Regions from separate parts of the Homo sapiens genome. Here regions 2 and 3 are each linked to region 1. Evidence: promoter capture Hi-C in 16 types of primary human blood cells and fetal thymus (Javierre and others, 2016). All regions are on one chromosome and are shown on one strand. Each heading gives the region's core, a stretch centred on a gene start or on the middle of the fragment in contact. The rest is flanking DNA. Distances are from core to core; before and after follow the strand shown. Region 1 holds the start of IFNAR2 (interferon alpha and beta receptor subunit 2). Region 2 has its middle 27 kb from the start of LINC01548. Region 3 overlaps IFNAR2-IL10RB (IFNAR2-IL10RB readthrough).

Region 1 (3,261 bases), core at 341-2,840:
AGGATGTTTACTGTAGAATGTTTGGAAAGGAAACAAAATAAAAATCACCTACTATCATCCAATCTGCAATAAGTCATAGTTAAGGTTTTGACATAGTTTTATTTTTAATATATATGTTTATATAAAAGAGTGCATGCAGCACATGGAGTTTGGTATTGGATTTCTCCCATTTTCAGAGGCTATTTCTGCAAATTCTCTAAAACTGTGGCTGAAAATATTTTCAATGTTGAATGTCTTTTATAAGAAATAGGATCCTAGATAAGTTCCCTTCAGATCGTATGGGGCTGGTGGGAATTCTGCCAAGGGTCACATAAGAGGCAGGACCGTGACATCCTCTTTATGATCACCCTTGTGCCTAGCCTTAAAGGAGTATCAGCAAATGTTGGTTGACTTCATAGATTAAAAGGCTCATTTTTCCCATCTACAAAAAGTATGAAACATCCTCCTCCTCCCTTTCCTAGGAGGCCAGAAAGCTGAACGAGAGATTAAATACTCAGTTAAAACAATTTAGGTGGTTAGTGTATCTTTTCCCTCTCCTTCAAAAAGATATTAACATTTCCATTTTAGTAGCTGTAATGTTTAGAATATACATACATTTTACTTGAAAGCTGCCTCATAGTCTATTTTGGTTTTGGATTTTCTTTTTTTTTTCGTTTTTCTTGAGACAGAGTTTCGCTCTTGTCTCCCAGGCTGGAGTGCAATGGTGCAATCTCAACTCACTGCAACCTCCACCTCCCAGGTTCAAGCAATTCTCCTGCCTCAGGCTCCCAAGTAACTGGGATTACAGGCGCCCGCCACCACGCCCAGCTAATTTTTGTATTTTTAGTACAGACAGGGTTTCACCATGTTGGTCAGGCTGGGTCTTGAAGTCCTGACCTCAGATGGTCCATCTGCCTTGGCCTCCCAAAGTGCTGAGATAACAGGTGTGAGCCACCGCTCCCGGCCTCATAGTCTATTTTAGAAGTTGACAGGCTATAAATAACAAGCAGACAAATTAATGAAGAACATCTGTCTTTCTGCCTATCCCGAAACACGTTGATCAGTGGGGGGTCGAGGGAAGGGTAGGAGTATGGAGAAGAGACCCGCGGAGAAGAGGGGAGAATCTACAACGGATAATGTTGTAGATATTTACAACATTTACTCAATGGTAGGTATTTTTATCCTCGTTTTACTAGTTGGAGAATTATATCATGCAGGTTTATACAATTAACAAGTGGGGGAGCCAGGAGAGAACCCATTCACTCTTTAGTTCATTCATTCATTCAGTCAGTCAACACATCTTTGGGTGTCTTCTAAATGCCAGGCACTATTCTAACCCCTAAGGATACTTCAGTAAACAAAACAGTCCCAAATTCTTCCCCTATGGAGCTTTCTCGGCGAAGGCGGGATTGGTTAGGAGCTGACAATCGGCAGCAGACGATTGTAAATGACCGGACCTTTTTTCTATTCTCCTGCCCAGCCCCCGGCCCGGCCTCCGCCTCCGGCCCTGCTCCAGCCCCGCCAGCGGCCCAGGACCCGCCCCTGGCTCCGGCCCCGCCCCTGGCTCCGCCCCCGCCCCCGCGCCGGCGGCGGCGCGGCGCCCGCGCTTCCGTATCGCTCCTCGTAGGCCGGGGCTCGGCGCGCGCACCCGCACTAAAGACGCTTCTTCCCGGCGGGTAGGAATCCCGCCGGCGAGCCGAACAGTTCCCCGAGCGCAGCCCGCGGACCACCACCCGGCCGCACGGGCCGCTTTTGTCCCCCGCCCGCCGCTTCTGTCCGAGAGGCCGCCCGCGAGGCGCATCCTGACCGCGAGCGTCGGGTCCCAGAGCCGGGCGCGGCTGGGGCCCGAGGCTAGCATCTCTCGGGAGCCGCAAGGCGAGAGCTGCAAAGGTAACGCAGCGTGGCGGGGTCGCGGGAGCGGAGCGCGTGGCCAGCTGACTGGAGGGAAAACGCCGCCTCCCTGCAGCGGTTCCCGGAATCCCCTCCGGTTCCCTCTCGCTCTCCCCGACTCCTCCTCCTCCTCCTGCCCTCCCTCTGCGTCTTGAGTATGCGGCTAGTGCGCCCTTCCTCTCTCCCGGGGCCGCACCTGCGACCCCAGGACCCCTCCCGGGCCCTGTCCTGCGCCCTCCACGCGTCGCCCCTGCTGGGAGTCCGCTTTCGTTGCACCCCTCCGCGTCCCACCCCACCCCACCAAGGATGCCCAGGATACCGGGCATTTGCCACTGCAAGATGTGAGTCGTTGCTAAGTTTGAGGGTCACATTCCTCCAGGTCCACCCCGCCTTGCAAAACCGGCTCACCAGCTGGGTGCTCAGGTTCGGGATCTCCAGCCCGCCCCCTTGAGGTCCCCTGGGATTAGCCCCCCTCGACCTGCGTCAGGGTCACAGACTGCAGCCGGGGCTGGAGCGGCCTACACCCCTCCGGATCCGCTGCGTGGAGGCAGGAGGGGGAAGGGGCGAGGGGACGTGGCCGCGGAGACAGAAGGGTGCACCCTCCCAGGGTCGGAGAGGGGAGATACTGGGAAGATACTCCGCGAATATGGAGAGGCGATCGGCACTTGCATTTCAACCCTGAGCAAATCAATCCGTTACACGCAGTAGCGAGTTGACTCCATCAGCCCGTTTATTTGGTTAGCGATGGTTATATTGACTCTGAGTATTCCCACCTCCTTTCTTTTAACATTTTTTTTTTTATTTCCTTGTTTTGTTTAGCAAGAAGTCTTAGAAACGAATATAGCATGCTTGGGCGTTGATTCAGTGGTGAGAAGTGCCGGAGCTGGCTCAGGGAGAGGTGGAGTTTCCCATGTGTGCTCACTGGCCCAGGGGCTAAGTCCCACTGCTTGCCAAGGTTTCTCAGTATCCTGTCCACCCACCCCCTATCCACCTGTGCAGGCTTGAGGGGGTGAGGGGGTAGCAGATACTCTATCAAAATCTACCCTAAGGAAAATATTCGATAAACACTCCTAGCAATTAGGGCATAGCTGATAAGGCTTGATCTGTTTGTCGCAGAAAATGACTTGAACTTGTAAGTTCTATTGTTCATAAAGTTGTTTTCCACAATTTTAGATAATCAAAAATGTACATGACTCATTTTTCTTACCTATTATTTCCTCTAAAGTTTCTCATGTATTTATTGAAAAGTTAAAGAAAATCTGATTTTGGTTCACATAATTTGACAATGGTGATTTGTCTAAAAGTCATTTCAAAAAGTAGTATGAAAAGGATCATAACCCTAGAGGTACTGTCATAGACGTGAAACATTTATTAAAATATATATTCCATGGC
Region 2 (3,176 bases), core at 115-2,614, 33 kb before region 1:
GCTGAGGCACGAGAATCACTTGAACCCAGGAGGCGGAGGTTGCAGTGAGCCAAGATCACACCACTGTACTCCAGCCTGGGTGACAGAGCAAGACTCCAACTCAAAAAAGAAAAAAAAAAAAAGAAAGAAAAAGAAAAAGAGAGAGAGAGAGAATCATTGAAGAAAGCTTGGATCCAGGTAAAAATAAAGAGCAGGACACAACCAGAAAAGTCTGTGGTTCTGTTATATCATTGGACAGTGTAATGAAATGTAATGTGTTTTAAAAAATAAAAATTCTATATTCCTAAATCTTGAATAGATTCCTATTTCAGAAACCATCCATTCTGATGAGTCTCCCTTAGCTCTGAAAGAAAGAGGATAAAAACCAAATACAAGAATAATAAAAACCACCTGTCCAAGATGAACTGGAGAAAGGGTGCTAATCTCCCTGCGACAACTCCTACAACTGTATTTGATCAGGATGATAAGAAAAGTTTTAACTCATGCCTCAAGCAGAGCCACAAGACCTGCCTTTTTTGATGACCTTGAATTCTACAACACAGGCTCCAAACCTCACATCTTGTCAACTCTCACCATGAGAAAAGTAGGAAACACTCTCTCACGTTCCCAAGTACTCACCATACCCCCCAAAATAAGTAAAAGCTTACTTTAAAAAATAATTTGTTTTCAGAGCAGAAATCTTCTAAAAGTTGAATTCTGATTCCGTACACACCTGCGGAGAGGTACTTGCCATGCCCACTGTCTAATATGCTTCTCTTTCTATGAACTAGGGTAGGGGTTACAAATAGCTGCCATAGAGTTACTGTCATTATCAGCCTGCAATCTGTGAGCAGCTGTTAAAAACCCACATTTTGTCTCAATTGTAATCATTCAAACAAATAATGCTTACCTACAGTTCAAAAGAAGTCAGTCTGGAATTAAGTGCTGTTCATACCAATTATGTTTCTTCTTTCAGATGTATGGAAAGGGAAAATAAATTATCCATTAAATTGCAGATATATGTAAAGATGCTTTTTGTAGTAAAAGCCAAAACAACTTGAATCTGACCTGTGATTAGAAATAACAGACATTTGAAATTCAGTAACTTAATTCATTGACAATATCACCAGGTTAGTTATCAATGATTCATTCAGTTTTCTTTTAAGCATTATTAATTGCTTGATACCATTTAGGATCAGGAAACCCTTAGTGCAGTGAAAATTGTAAAAGTTTATGACCTGGGAGGCCCGTGTCTAGCCATGCCTCTGTCAGGAATCTGTGGTGTGACTTCTGACAAGAGTTTTATCCCTCTGGATCTGTTTCCTTGGCTGGAAAGTGAGGAAATCGATCCAAAGATTACCTCGCAGATTCTCTCCAACTCTGACATTCTATCATTTCACACTCACTTTAAAATAGACTGTCGGCGACCCTACGCCAGTTTTCCTTGAGAAACAGCGCCACCTTCAGGTCATAATAACCATAAGAGAGCTGACCGTGAAGGTGCTTCTCCGGCAGGAGCGATTTGCCCTGATCCACAGAAACCCTTCCCCCGCAGTCCTCTGGGATGCGGTCACACACTTGTGAGTCTGCCGCTGGGTTAAGATCAATGCGTATGGACATGGAGCCAAGCTGAGCTAACTGGCCCACAAGGGACAGATGCATGACCTTGGCCTAATTATCACAGCTCCAGCTAACAGTTCGCCCACAGCAAAGCTCCTTGTGGAACCCTATAAAGAAGGAAAGGAAGCGAGGGATATGCTGGATGAACTAAACTCTACAAAACAATGAAAATGGACACACCTCTTCTTCAGGCAATTCCACTTAAGATAGTTTCCAGCTGTTCTTATTTTAGCAAGATATCTACTTGGATATACTTTCATTAAGAAAAATGACATAGTGAACTCTGAAGTAAATATCAGATTTTTTTCACCCAGCAAATATTTATTGAGCAACCAACCACTTGAATGCCAGCACCGTGCTAAAAGCTCTCACAAAATTACTTTTATTGAATTTCCACAACAGCCCTTGTGAGAGAGGAATTCATATCTTCATTTTTCAACACAAGGAAGTTGAGAATGAGAGAGGCCCAGAAACAGCAGATCTGGCAACAAGCTTGAATATGCAGACACAAACATTCCACACAGTCCTCCTCTGAGGACACGACGCAACTGCTCCTTTTCAAGAGCTTATCACTTGGCACAGTGTGGCACCAACTGCAATCAGCAGTGCAGAGGCAAAGGCCGCTAGGGAACTCAGTTTATTTCTCTGCAGTGTGATCTGTATGCAGAAAATGGCCCTATCTTTGCCAGCCATCCTCTGCCATACCTCCCTAACCCACTGATGGATGCTGGGCAGGATAAGGGGGATAAGTTAATTTGTTCCTAAGTGTCTAAACAAGGATCCTTCTTAGAAACAGTGGATATTTAAGGTTGTCCCTTTGATCACATCCCAACAATCCCTAAATTCCATAGGCTTTCTTGGTTGGGAAAGAGGCAGAGCAACTGCTACCCATGGGAATGCATCATATTTGGAAATATAATGTTTCCTGTGCATTACAGAGGAGAGAAGTGGGAAGCATCGCCCGGTGCTGGAGGTACTCCAGCTACAGGTGGTACCCTCTATATCTTACTCTTTCCCGTACCTACATATGTGTAGTCAACTCCAGTTGATGAGATCAGGTTTTCAATTCTTTGTACCCCCCCACTGCACTTTGCAAAATACTGGCACATAAATTTAAAGTTACTAAATATTTGCTGGTGTGTTAGGAAAAACACATAGTCTGCATGCAGAAAACAGGAATTATACAAACTAGCATGATCAGACATATTTAAGATGTCAGCTGAGTTACTCTAGGGCAGAGCCCAAGGATGAAGCTTGGCTGAGGGAGGATAGGGGAAGTGCCTTGGGACCTTTAGATTATGGGTGGAAGGAACAAAAGACCCACATGGAACAAGACACTAGAGTTGGATTGACCCTTTGGGGAAGGAGAAGTTACGATATGACATCTAAACCGCAAGGAAGATGCCAGAAAAAGAAAGAATAATATATTGTGTAAGCAAGCAATTTCTTAATTTTAAACGTGTTTTTATATTCAGGTGAAATTGTTTTATTCAAGGTTGAATGACTACTAAGTTGCAGCTAATCAGAAGTTGAGAAAGAAATGCTTGGCAGTTGGAATCCAGTTTTTGCACATAATC
Region 3 (3,383 bases), core at 574-3,073, 46 kb after region 1:
AGTGGTATGATCTCAGATCACTGCTGCCTCCACCTCCCAGGTTCAAGTGATTCTCCTGCCTCAGCTTCCCAAGTAGTGACACCACACCAGGCTAATTTTTGTATTTTTTTTTTAGTAAAGTCAGGGTTTCACCATGTTGGCCAGGCTGGTCTCGAACTCCTGACCTCAAGTGATTTGCCCGCCTTGGCCTCCCAAAGTGCTCAGATTACAGGCATGAGCCACTGTGCCCAGCTTCAAAATATATTTCTTAAATAATAAGATTTGAAAGTCGAAATAACTCCTTGACCCATGGGCTACAGAATGGATGTTGTGTTAGCAGGCATGAAAACAGCATTAATTTCCTTTTAAATCTCCATCAGAGTTCTTGGGGAACCAGGTACATTGTCAATGAGAGGTAATATTTTGAGAGAAAACTTTTTATCCTGAGCAGTAGGTCTTAATACTGGGCTTAAAATATTCAGTAAACCATGCTGTAAACAGATGTGCCGTCCTCCAGGCTTTGTTGCTCCATTTGTAGAGCACAGGCAGAGTAGATTTGGCATAATTCTTAAGAGCTCTCTGATTTTCAAAATGGTAATCCAGTGTTGGCTTCAACTTAAAGTCACCAGCTACATTAGCCCTTAACAAGAGTCAGCCTGTTCTTTGAAGCTTTGAAGCCAGGCATTGACTTCTCCTCTGTAACTATGAAAGTCCTAGATGACATCTTAATAGAAGGTTGTTTCATCTACATTAAAAATCTGTTGTTTAGAGTATCCACCTTCATCATTTTAGCTAGATTTTAGCTAGATCTTCTGGATAACTTGCTGCAGCTTCTACATGGGCACTTGCTGCTTCACCTTGCACTTTTATATTATGGAGATGGCTTCTGTCCTTAAACCTTATGAACCAACCTCTGCTAACTTCCAACTTTTCTTTTTTTTTTTTTTTTTTTTTGAGATGGAGTCTCGCTCTGTTGCCCAAGCTGGAATACAGTGACACAATCTCGGCTTATTGCAACCTCTGCCTCCCGGGTTCAAGTGATTCTCCTGCCTCAACCTCCTGAGTAGCTGAGATTACAGGTGCATGCCACCATGCCCGGCTAATTTTTTTGTATTTTTAGTAGAGGTGGGGTTTCACCATGTTGGTCAGGCTGGTCTTGAACTCCTGACCTGATGATCCGCCCACCTCAGACTCACAAAGTGCTGGGATTACAGGCGTGAGCCACCACACCCAGCCCCAACTTTTCTTCTGCAGTTTCCTCACCTCTTTAAGCCTTCACAGAATTGGAGTGTTAGGGTCTTGCTGTGGATTAGACTTTGGCTTAAGGGAATGGTGTGGCTGGTTTGATCTTCTATCCAGACCACTGAGACTTTCTGCATATTTTCAATAAGGCTGTTTTACTTTCTTATTATTAATGTGTTCACTGGAGTAGCACTTTAAATTTCCTTCAACAACTTTTCCTTTGCATTCACAACTTGGCTAACTGTTTGGCCCAAGGGGCCTGTTGTGGCCTGCAATATGCCTTCCTCACTAAGCTTAATCCTTTGCAGCTTTTGGAATAGGGATGCCCGAGGAGAAGGAGAGAGGCAGGAGAGTGGACAGTGGGTGGAGAAGTCAGAACACTCACAACATCTATTGATTAATTTCACTGTCTTATATAGGTGTGGTTCATGGTACCCCAAAACAATTACAACAGTAACATCAAAGATCACTGATCACAGATCACCATAACACATATAATCATGATGAAAAGTTTTGAAATATTGCGAGAATTACCAAAATGTGACATAAAGACATGAAGTGAGCATGTGCTGTTGGAAAAATGGCACCAATAGACTTGCTCAATGCAGGGTTGCTGCAGACCTTCGATTTGTAAAATGCAATATCTGTGAAGTACAGTAAAGCAAATCACAATAAAATGAGGTATGTCTACATCTAAATGTATTTAAACATAGAAAAGGTACAGTAAAAATACAGTATCATTATCTTAGGGCATCAACGTTGTATATGTGGTCTGTCATCTACCGAAATGTCATTATGCAGCACATGACTTTATTGAAAATCATTGTAATATCTTTATTTTGGTAAATTTTTGTAAATCAATGTCTCATAAATCACATGCCCCTGTTTTCAAAAATACGTAATCAAGGAAGCAAGCTTTCTTGGTCAAGTATGCTGAATACTCAACCCCTTGGAGAGGCACGTAGTCATTAAGATGTTCAAGTCTCTGAGAAGTTCTGTTTTGAAGACACGTATTTCTATGTTTAACACAGTTTCCACTCCCGCGCCGCCCCCCCCTCCAAATTAAGTACCAGTCAGCCTCAGGGAGACTGAAGCCAGAACTCTCCTGATTGACCTATCTTTTTGATTGTGTAGTTATAGGATATTCCAAGATAAATGCATGAATACTACCTTGACGGAATGTGATTTCTCAAGTCTTTCCAAGTATGGTGACCACACCTTGAGAGTCAGGGCTGAATTTGCAGATGAGCATTCAGACTGGGTAAACATCACCTTCTGTCCTGTGGATGACAGTAAGCCATTTTGTTTTCCCTTTTTTTGTAATGTCATCATCTTGCCTTGTTTTTTTCCACATTGGTTGGTCCATCAACAAGAATTCTTTGAGGGCCCACAAATGGATGGCCTTGCACAAGGAGCTTAAGGAATATAATAAAGAGAGTTGTATCCCTAAAGAATTCATGGGAGAGACAGAAAAAGATAGGCATATCATCAATGCAACAATTAAATATAAATCTAACACCTTCAGTGCCTCAAGGATGTGACTATGTTGGGGCCCGTGCTGTTGAGGAGAAGTTCTGGAAGGATTCTTGTGGTGAATTTTCTGGGAGAAAGTCAGTATGGAATTATGACTTAAACAAAGAAACATAACGTGATAGGCAAAAGAATGAAGGCAGATGTAGAGATGGAAAATATGATGCGGACAGCCGGCTTGCCCAGAGCGAAGGACAGAGGGAGGGATAGGGCTGATGGCAGGTGGGTTGGGTCAGACTGGTTGGTCAGCATCAAAAATTGTTCCCAGGTTAGGTGGAGATTGCAGTGAGCCGAGATCACGCCACTGCACTCCAGCCTGGGCAATAGAGTGAGACTTGGTCTCAAAAAAAAAAAAAATATTGTTCCCAGGTTAGATTTGGAGGGTCATGGTGACCACCAGAGTCCCCTAAATATGAGATGAGCATATTTAGAATATCAGGAATTGAAAACTAATTAAACCATATATTAGCAATTGAGAGAGTAAAGAAGATTAGAGGTTAAAAGAACCTAATTCACAAAATTCACATACAGCCCTTCAAAACTCACATAGAGAAAAGCACTAAAAGAATTGTCTCTGGCTAGGCATGGTGGCTCACGTCTATGATCCCAACACTTTGGGAGGCTGAGGTGGT

Evidence for each region. Contacts are between HindIII fragments. The CHiCAGO score rates a contact against its expected background, and 5 or more counts as called.
Region 2: a fragment that was not itself captured here is called in contact with the fragment with the promoter of IFNAR2 in region 1 in 1 of 17 cell types (neutrophils); the score reaches 5.1 in neutrophils.
Region 3: a fragment that was not itself captured here is called in contact with the fragment with the promoter of IFNAR2 in region 1 in 2 of 17 cell types (monocytes and naive CD4 T cells); the score reaches 6.0 in monocytes.

What each region holds. Positions count from the first base shown.
Region 1 is chr21:33,228,348-33,231,608 of GRCh38, forward strand. IFNAR2 (interferon alpha and beta receptor subunit 2) reads left to right here and starts at 1,591. Exons shown (of 9, transcript NM_001289125.3): 1 at 1,591-1,869. It overlaps IFNAR2-IL10RB (IFNAR2-IL10RB readthrough), which reads left to right and starts at 1,591. Exons shown (of 13, transcript NM_001414505.1): 1 at 1,591-1,869. RefSeq lists silencers at 1,408-1,867, 1,928-1,987, 2,008-2,057. The HindIII fragment of the contact is 6,332 bases long and covers 1-3,261 here.
Region 2 is chr21:33,195,614-33,198,789 of GRCh38, forward strand. No RefSeq gene overlaps it. Among named protein-coding and RNA genes, the nearest start is that of LINC01548, 27 kb to the left of the region's middle. The HindIII fragment of the contact is 1,449 bases long and covers 641-2,089 here.
Region 3 is chr21:33,274,241-33,277,623 of GRCh38, forward strand. IFNAR2-IL10RB (IFNAR2-IL10RB readthrough) reads left to right here. Exons shown (of 13, transcript NM_001414505.1): 9 at 2,356-2,513. IL10RB (interleukin 10 receptor subunit beta) reads left to right here. Exons shown (of 7, transcript NM_000628.5): 3 at 2,356-2,513. Among named protein-coding and RNA genes, the nearest start is that of IL10RB, 9.6 kb to the left of the region's middle. The HindIII fragment of the contact is 622 bases long and covers 1,513-2,134 here.